2 separate regions of the Homo sapiens genome follow, and region 1 is linked to region 2. Evidence: promoter capture Hi-C in 16 types of primary human blood cells and fetal thymus (Javierre and others, 2016). All regions are on one chromosome and are shown on one strand. Each heading gives the region's core, a stretch centred on a gene start or on the middle of the fragment in contact. The rest is flanking DNA. Distances are from core to core; before and after follow the strand shown. Region 1 overlaps KLF9 (KLF transcription factor 9). Region 2 holds the start of ZFAND5 (zinc finger AN1-type containing 5).

Region 1 (4,785 bases), core at 1,836-4,335, 2.0 Mb after region 2:
CCCAGTAATTTCTCAATAGAAAGTAAATCACCTACTGCCCTCCACTTCCATGCCCATGGAATATATTCCTTTTAAAATTTTTAAGAGATGAGGTTTCACTATGTTGCCCATGCTGGTCTTGAACTCTGGGCCTCAAGCAGTCCTCCCTCCTCAGCCTTCCAAAGTGCTGGGATTACAGGCATAAACCACCATGTCTGGCCTGGAATATATTCTTGATCAAGCCATTTGTGGAATGGTTTAAACTCAGATGTATCGCTGTTTTCTGTAAGACTTTTAAAAAATATTAAAATAACTTTTTCTGACTTTTTCTCATAAAAGAAATTTATACTCACTGTTTAAAAAATCAGAAAACATAGGGAAAAATTACAAAAGGAAGTAGAAGTTATTCTTTATCTCCTCACTGGTAGATAGTAATTGTTCAAATTTTGTATATATTCTTTTTACTTAATATTTTTTTAATTTTAAATTGTAGTAGAGATGGGGTCTTACTGTGTTGCCCAAGCTGGTCTTGAACTCCTGACTTCAAATAGTCCTCCTGCCTCAGCCTCCCAAAGTGTTAGGATTACAGGCATGAACCACCTCAGCCAGCCCATATTTTGTGGGCAACAGGATTTTTTTCTCTCCATATATATTCACACACTTATGCAGCTGATCATACATTGTTCTTCTCAGTTAGCAGTGTATGGCTAACATCTTTCCATTTCATTATATAACAGTCTGGTACCTTTTTCACAGGTACATATTAGTCCCCTGTAAGGATATACTTTATGTATTAAACCAGCCCTTTATTTTTGAGCATTTAAGTTACCACCTTTTAGCTCTCATAAGCAATGCTGGTATCCCTTTTCATGTCTCTATCTAATTATTATCAAATTAATTGCCAAAAATAATCTGCAGGAGAATATTGCCAGATGGCCCTGGATTAATTATAAATCCCACCAGTGTGGTAGAGGGCCTGTTTCCTCATGCCTCCACCAGTGGTCGGTATGAACAGATTTTTTAACGTTTTCACTAGCCTCACAGATATCTTGCTGGTGTCTTAATTGGCATGTTTTGATTACTTGTGAGATTGAATATATTTTTGTATGAAATATTAAATATTTTCGTATTTATTTCTTGGTCATTAGTATTTTATTTATGTATTTATTTATTTATTTATTTTGAGGCAGCGTCTGGCTCTGTTACCCAGACTGGAGTGCAGTGACACAATCTCAGCTTACTGCAACCTCTGTCTCACTGGTTCAAGTGATCCTCCCACCTGAGTAGCTGGGACTGTAGGTGTGCACCACACAGCCTGGATAATATTTGCATTTTTAGTAGAGATGAGGTTTCGCCATGTTACCCAGGCTGGTCTCAAACTCCTGGGCTCGAGCAATCTGCCTGCCTCGACTTCCCAAAGTGCTGAGATTACAGGCATGAACCACCACGTCTGGCCAGTATTTCTTACTTTATAAATTATTTATTTGCATCCTTGCCCACTTTTATTAAGTTGGGCTGTTCCTTTTTGATTTGCAAGTCCTTTCTGTGTTACAGATTTTAACATTTTGTCATATGCTTCAATTTCTTTTAATTTATTTTGATTCTTAAATTTTTCTACTTATATATATTTTTAACATGCAGAAGTTTAACATTTTTACGTATTCAAAACTATCCTTCAAGTAGGATTTTGCTTTTGGTTTCATGTTTAGAAAGTCTCTATTCCAGGATTCTAAAAATGCTCACCTATATTTTATCGTTATGGCTTTATTTTTTACATTTACATTTATAGCCCATTTGGAAATCATTTGAGTGAAAAGTATGAGGTAGGGACTAAGATTTAATTTTTTTCTTTTACCTGACATCTAAGCCACTTACTGAATTAAACATTTTCTGTTTCACTGATTTGAAATACCCCATTTACCATGTACAGAATCCCTATAGATTCTTAAGGTTATTTTCAGACCCTACTCTGTTCCACTGATTTGTCTTTTCCTGTGCTGCTATCTCACTATCTTAATTATTACAGCTTTAATAATCCATTTTAATAACTAGTATTGCAAGTGCTCACTTATTATTTGTTCTTCCGCAAAATTTTCTTGGCAAGTTGGGCATGTTTATTCTTCCAAATGAACTTCAGAAATAACTTTGTCAAGTTCTAGAAAAAGAAATTCTTACGGTGTGTGTTAATTCCGTAGATGAATTTGTACAGAATTGCCATATTCACACCATTGAGCCTTACCATCCAAAGGCATGGCAAGCATTTTGTTTGTTCATTTTCTTTTATATTGAGGCTTTATGCATTTCTTCACCAAGGTCCTGAACTTTTATTGTTAGGCTTATTCTGACTGGTTATGGCTGGCATATAAGAAAGCCAGTGCTCTTTTGTACAGTTACATCTGTGAATGCACCTTTAATTTAGATTAGATTTTTCAGTTATCTTGAATTTTTTCAAAGAGAAAGTTGTGTCAACTGCAAATAATTCTTATTTTATAACCCCCCCTTCTTCTCACCATTTACTTCTTATTTTATCTAATTGCACTCATTAGTATTTCCTGGAAAATGTTAAATTATAGCAATGGGAGCGGGTGTCCATTTATGCTTTGGGCTAGACTTTAGTAGTTATACTACCTTTATTTTACTGTTGACCTTGCAGAGGAAAGGTTTCAGAGCTGATCTTTTATACTGCTGAGGAATTATTTTATTTTCCTGAAAGCTTTTATTAGGGATGGTTGTTCAATTTTATCATATACTATTTTGTACACGATAAGAGTGTGTATATGATATTAAATGATACTAAATGTGTGTGTGTGTGTGTGTGTATGAGCTGTTAAATGGGGGAATAATATCAGTATGATTTAATAATATCAAATTGTCCTTTTTAAAATTACATTTCTTTTGTAGAGTTGGGGTGTTACTGTGTTGCCCAGATTGGTTTTGATCTCCTGGGCTCAAGCAGTCCTCCCATCTCAGCCTCCCAAAGTGCTGGGATTACAGGCGTGAGCTACCACAGCCAGCCCAAATTCTTCTTTTATCTATGGAATCCTAGTGCTGTTTTTGCAATCAGAAACCACTCTTTTTTTTTTTTTTTTTTTTGAGACAGGGTCTCAGTCTCACTCTCACCCAGGCTGCAGTGCAGTGGCACAATCATAGCTCACTGCAGCCTCAACCTTTGGGCTCAAGCAATCTTCCCGCCTCAGCCTCCCAAGTATCTGGGACCACAGGCAAGCACCACTACGCCTGGCTAATTTGTTGTATTTTTGGTAGAGATGGGGTTTCACCACATTGCCCAGGCTGGTCTTGAACTTCTGTGTTCAAGTGATCCATCTTGAGCGGCTGAGCATTATTTTTCTTCTAGAAGAAGTCTTGATTTTCTACATCTGCAAGAAACTTTAATTCTTAATTGGCACTGTTTGAGCTCTGTTCTGAAAAGGAGGCCTAAATCCCTTAGATTTGTTTTTTACCAGATTGGTTTACTTTTGCTAGATGCAATGGAAGCTTTTGATTTTGTATTTTTGACTTTCCTGTCTCCATTAAAGTTAGACCCATCCCTGGACTTGGGTGGGGCAGGGAAGATGAGAAGAACCAGGTAGGAAAGAGACGACATTCAGATGGCAGGCCTCCCTGACCCCAGGCAGGACTTCAGTGGCAGCCTGGACAGCTCAGGGAGTCTGGGGAGGGTTGCCTATGTCCAGTGAGCAAGCTTGGCACTTGGCAAGTACCCGGTCTCTGTCTTCTCTATGGAGAACTCACCTCCATTCGTTTCAGGACTGCCCACAAAAAAATGGGCTTCATTTGGCATCATCAACTAATCAGCAGTCGAGGAGGCTCCCTCTCAAAAGCAGCAAGTGTCCTTTTGTGCTAAGTAGGCAAGCACATAGCCAGGGGGCCCCAGTCCACTGTTCTTGCACCCTCCGTAGGCCCAGGAGAATTCTGGAGGCCTGATGACTGTCTCTGCAAAGGAAGTCTTTTACACATTGTGCGCAGTGTTCAGTAGCTTTTTTGATCACATTTATTTTATACTCTGAGCTGAGTCAGTCAGCAAGAGGTGCTTAGCTTGTTACTGAAAGGGGCGGGGAGTGGTATATAAATAATGAGAACTCAGAGAAACTTGTGCTGTTAACAGCTCTGCTCCAGTAAAGTGGAGTTTATTGTGTCACTGCCTCTGGGTGTGTTTTCCTGTGAAGGCCAGAAATAATGCAGTGGTACAAGTGTGTTGGGTATTTTTTTCCCTATCCCCAGGAGGATGGTAACTCTCTCATTAATACTAAAGACAGGTTTAAAGATTCTCTAATTGATAGTTGCATTGCTGTGTGATTTGTTCAGCGTGAAGGCTGACCATTCTCCTTTAGACCTTAGCACCGAGCCTCAAAGAGAGGGCCTGACTTGGTTTCCCCCAGGCTGCCAGACGAAGGTGGAGTGACCGTCTCTCTAGGCCAGTCCTCTCCTCCTCTGTAGATCATCTCTGGTCCCATTCAGCCTTAATTCTGTTCTCGTCTACATGTGACTTCCCCATTCCATGCTTTCTTAAGTGCAAAACATCTATCATTTTCTAAATAATACCTTATTATATGACTGTCATTAACTTATATGCTGGGATGTTAGATTCAACATCATGGCATGTTAGATCCAAACTCTCCACTGTATTAAAAAGGTGGGAGATTTTTCAAAGGGCTACAAATTGTAGGTCCCTAAGCAGAATCCAGCCTGCGTACACACCACTGGGTGGCACCATAATTTATAATGTTGAAATTGAATGCCTCTAAGTAGGGGAAGCACCCTGTTCAGTTCACCATGGAATCCATTATG
Region 2 (4,690 bases), core at 1,849-4,348:
GTGCAAAACTTTTTTTTTTTTTTGAGACAGAGTCTCGCTCTGTTATCCCAGGCTGGAGCACAGTGGCACAATCTCGGCTCACTGCAACCTCCACCTCCCCAGCTCAAGTGATTCTCCTGCCTCAGTCTCCCGAGTAGCTGGGACTACAGGCACCTGCCACTCGCCTAGCTAATTTTTGTATTTTTAGTAGAGACAGGGTTTGGCCATGTTGACCAGACTGGTCTCCAATTCCTGACCTCAGGTAATCCGTCTGCCTCCACCTCCCAAAGTGCTGAGATTATAGGCGTGAGCCACCACACCTAACCAATATCACATTTTGAGCACGACCAACTTTGCTCATTATCTGTTTTTTTGTTTGTTTGTTTGTTTTGTTTTTGAGACGGAATCTCATTTTGTCACCAGGCTAGAGTGCAGTGGCATAATCTCTGCTCACTGCAACCTCTGTCTCCTGGGTTCAAGTGATTCTCCTGCCTCAGTCTCCCGAGTAGCTGGGACTACAGGCACGCACCAACATGCCCAGCTAATTTTTGTATATTTTTTAGTAGAGACAGGGTTTCACCATGTTGGTCAGGACGGTTTCAGTCTCTTGATCTCATGATCCACCCCCCATGGCCTCCCAAAGTGCTGGGATTACAGGTGTGAGCCACCACGACTGGCTACTCATTATCTTTTTTACAGAGGTTGGTTTCAGGCCAAAGTTGACCTTCCCTAATGACTATAGAGCAAAGCCCTTTGGCATGTTATATTAGAAGCATTCTCTTATATATTCTGTGTTTAGCAATTCAGTTTGTCTTTGGAGTGCAAGTGAAAATTTAAAATATAAGAAAACAAAAATAAAACAAAAACCTTCTTAGAAGTATATCCCTTAATCTGTTACACCAGTAATATGAGACTTTTTTTTTTTAAACTTTTCCCTTTCACATGGTGTGAGCCATCTGAAAAAAAGAGGGGTCACCTGATGCCATGGTAGGGTTAAGTCAATAGTTTTCAAACTTGTGTATGCATCAGAATCACCTGGAGGACTTATTAAGCCACAGACGGCTGTGCTAACCCCCAGTTTGTGACTCCACAGGTTTGGTGCTGGGGCCTGAGAATCTGTATTTCTAATAAGTTCCCAGGTAGTCTGGAGACCACATTTTGAGAACCACTAGAAAATAGCTGCTAAAAAGGAATCTTGGTATGTTTAGGTCCAATACCTGCAACATTCTTGATTGAAACAGTCTCAGAGAAAATTATAAATGGGTGATAGAGAAGATGAATTATCAGAAGGTGACATAATATTATGGAATACACTATTCAATAATGAGCTTGCCTCATTACCCTTAGACTTTTTTTAAAGTATGCTTCTTCAGGAATTATCTTGTTTCACTCACTATAACTCCAATTCTAGAGAAAGAAAAAAATTCAAGTTAAAATTCAAGTTATTTTTGTTCTCAATAATAATCACCTCCATTGCCTCCCTGCCCTTCAGTGCCCTGGGCAAGCCTTTTTAGTCATTGTTTCTTTATCTGTAGAAAGGGACATGATAATAGTACCTATCTCAGTGAATTGCTGTGAGGATAAAATGAGACCCTAAATGGAAAATAGTTGGCACTGAAAATGGCCTGTAAATGGTAGCTGCTATTTTTTTTTTTTTTTTACTAATTCATCTGCTAATTTAAGGAAATAAATTGCAGTGGTCGTGGGACCAGTGACCCAAACTACTTAAATCTCTAATACATTAATTGATCACAGTAATAAACCCGAATTTGTTAAAAAACAAAACAAAAGGTTGTTATGCTCCAGGTACTTTGCTAACTGTGGCGGAGAACTGTTTGATTTGGCAGTGGTGGCTCAAGCTATCAGTATAGCATTCCCCCAAATACAGATTATAAATAAGGACCACCTGAAGCGCAATATGGGCCCCCCCCCACCCCCGCTCCCACCCCGGAACAACCAAAACCATATCCAGGGGAGATGCGTAGGAATCTTTAATCACCCCAGGTGATTTTTTTTCTGATTACCAACTTTGAGAAACACTGAAGGGACCTCTTCTCCATTCTATATGTGGCTAATATAAACCCTAAACATCATTTCTATGTATTCGTTAGACCGTTGTTTACTAGAAAATTTCAGAAGTCCTTTCCGACTTAGTAATTTTGTTATTTTGAGTTGAACTGAAATTCACTTGGAGCGGTCAGTTGAAAATGTTTTTTGTTTGTGCTCTGAAAAGGTTCCCAGTGTTCCGGGTAAAGTCATCCTTTCACCCATGGGGGACCTGTGCCTCGTGCCTGAACTGCCCGCCTAGTACCTCCCCCCTTGAACTTCCTCTCGCAAGCCTCCTCCTCCCGCTTCATCTGGGCCTCGGGTCTAGCTTGTTTTGTCCCTTCGCGGCTTTTGAGTAGAACATTTGGTGCTTTCCCAGTTCACGACGCTTTGCTGGAATCGTCAATTTCCAGGGATTTCACAGGCTGGCCAAAACAGTTTGTTCAGAACAGCGCCGCCGGGGCATTGGCAGCCCTGGGCGGCCGCGCGTTTCCTCACTCCGCACAACCACCCGTGACCTTGGGCGAGCGAACGCACGCCGCCAGCTGCGTCAGGGCCACGCTCGGGCTGGACTTCGGAGCTCAAAATGGGTGTGGGGAGTGAGGAGGTTTCATAAACAGAAAAGACCTCGAAGCCATAAGGCAATTCTTTTCCTTTTCTGGGGGTGAATCCTTACGATTCTTGGGGGAGGGAATGTCTGCCCAGGGCTGGAGACAAAGCGTGAGAACTAGGATGGCGAAAAACGGGTTTGAATGAGAAAATCCGAAGGAGGGAGGCTGAGGGCGGACAATTGGGTTAAAAATAGAAACGCATCCTCCACAGGACTCGCTCTTCCCAGCTCCACCCTAGGGGCCGACTGCCAGGCCAGTGGCTGGGCTCCGCGAGAAGGCACAGCAACCCGTCTCGGCCCCGCCTCCTGGACCTACTGACAGGGCACCGGGGGCGTGGCCTTGGGCCCGCGACGTCACCGCGCTCCCCGCCGCCGCCGCCGCCGCCGGGGTTTTCGCTGACGCACGGGTCCCGCCCCCTCCCCCTCTTTTCCCTCACAGCCCGGGCGCCGGGCGGCGAGTGCGTTAGTCGGCCGGGACGCGGAGCTGTGTGCATCTCCTACGCGGGCTCGCTCGCTCCCGGGAGCCGCGCAGCTTCCCCGGCGGTGGCAGGAGCGGCGAAGAGCGCCATCAGCGGGCCCTTACGGCCCCAGGCCTCGCGGCGCGCGGTCCGCTCGCCCTCCTCGTCCGCCCAACCTGCGGCCTGTGGAGGCGTGAGGCGACGACAGGCGAGCGCCTCGAGCAGCGTTAGCCGCTGCGGCCGCCGGTCCTCCCTCCACCTCCTCCTCGGCCCCCCCTCGCTTCCCTCCTCCCACTTCCCGAGCTCCGGCGTGTCCCGGCCACGCTCGACGCTGCTGCAGGAACAAAGGAAGACCCCGCGGCGGCGGCGGCGCCACCTCCGCCTGCTGCTCCGACCCGCTCCCGGCCCGCGGCGGCGGCACCAGGGCGCCCGGCTCAGCCTTCCCGGAGGCCTCGGCCCGGCCTCATCGTGCCGGCTTCGCGCGCGAACCCGGCTTTCGCATTTGGGACCCTGCAGGGTGAGTGATACGGGGCTGCGGGTGGGAGCCGGGCTCCTTGTTGCCGGGCCGGGGGCGGGAGTGAAGGGACCGGGGCGCCGCGGGCCAATGGCGAAGCCGGAGCAGGCCGCGGATGGCGGCGTCCGGGGGAGGGGAGCCCGCCCGCCAGCCCAGGAAGCACAAAGACGGAGGCGTCATCCTGTCGTCGTGGCCCGAGACCTGGCTCCCGGCGTCCCTGGCTCGCTCCACAGCACGGTCGGGAAACAATGCACGGCGTGCCGCCTCTGCGGGGCCGGCCTCTAGGCCGCTCGCCTCCGCGGCGGCGCCCGGCGTGGGCACCACGACCCAGAGAAACAAAGAGGCCGAGGCGGCGGCCGCGCCCCCTGCCCGTTGCAGCCCCCCCTAGCTCTCCCCTAAGAGGAGCCGTTCGGGGTCGGGGGTCGGGGGTCGGGGATCCGCGTGGGGCCTGCAGGCGAAGGGCTGGCCGGGCCTGCTGAGCTGCTGTTCTGCATGACTCAGTGGTTTTCGGAGAGGGCCCTGTTGGGCTTTATTGAGTGAGGCCTTTGCTTAGAGGGGGATGGGGTATCAGTGGGACCCGAACTTGTTCCAAAATCCATTGGAACATGGGGCCGGGGGTTCTCGGCGTCGTCTTTTGGGCTTCTCGACGTCGCTGCGTTTTTATCCTGAGATCCGTTTTCATGGAGGAAATGGAACACCTCCTTTGTTTGGTGCATTTAGGCTGATGAATGTGAAATTTTTTGCTCGCTTTCCACGCACTCCGTGGAGGTGTGTTTTCGGGGAAGGGTCGGATTATCTTTATTGATTGAGTGTCTCCTAAGGGATAGCATCTAAGGAGATACCAAGATAAAGGAACATATAGGTCACACATCCCCGTTCTTAAACCTGGGATTTAGATACAGACTTCTAAAAACATAAACGAATGTATTTTATTCCTTATTTTTAGGATTTTTTTTAAAGAGTAGGCTTTCAGAACTCAGTTGGTGAAAATACTGCAATTTTATCTTTGAAGTTTTTTGTTAAAATGTTTCCCCACACCCCCCTAAAAAATTAAGGATTCTTTGTAGTTGTCTCCTGTTTTCT

Evidence for each region. Contacts are between HindIII fragments. The CHiCAGO score rates a contact against its expected background, and 5 or more counts as called.
Region 1: a fragment that was not itself captured here is called in contact with the fragment with the promoter of ZFAND5 in region 2 in 1 of 17 cell types (naive CD8 T cells); the score reaches 5.1 in naive CD8 T cells.

What each region holds. Positions count from the first base shown.
Region 1 is chr9:70,392,312-70,397,096 of GRCh38, reverse strand. The region is part of intron 1 of KLF9 (KLF transcription factor 9); the gene reads left to right. It overlaps LOC124900273 (a long non-coding RNA gene), which reads left to right. Exons shown (of 2, transcript XR_007061576.1): 2 at 1-4,040. Among named protein-coding and RNA genes, the nearest start is that of KLF9-DT, 19 kb to the left of the region's middle. The HindIII fragment of the contact is 782 bases long and covers 2,695-3,476 here.
Region 2 is chr9:72,363,616-72,368,305 of GRCh38, reverse strand. It overlaps ZFAND5 (zinc finger AN1-type containing 5), which reads left to right and starts at 3,098. Exons shown (of 7, transcript NM_001102420.3): 1 at 3,098-3,610. RefSeq lists silencers at 2,860-3,239, 3,250-4,079 and enhancers at 2,687-3,391, 3,392-4,095. The HindIII fragment of the contact is 8,298 bases long and covers 1-4,690 here.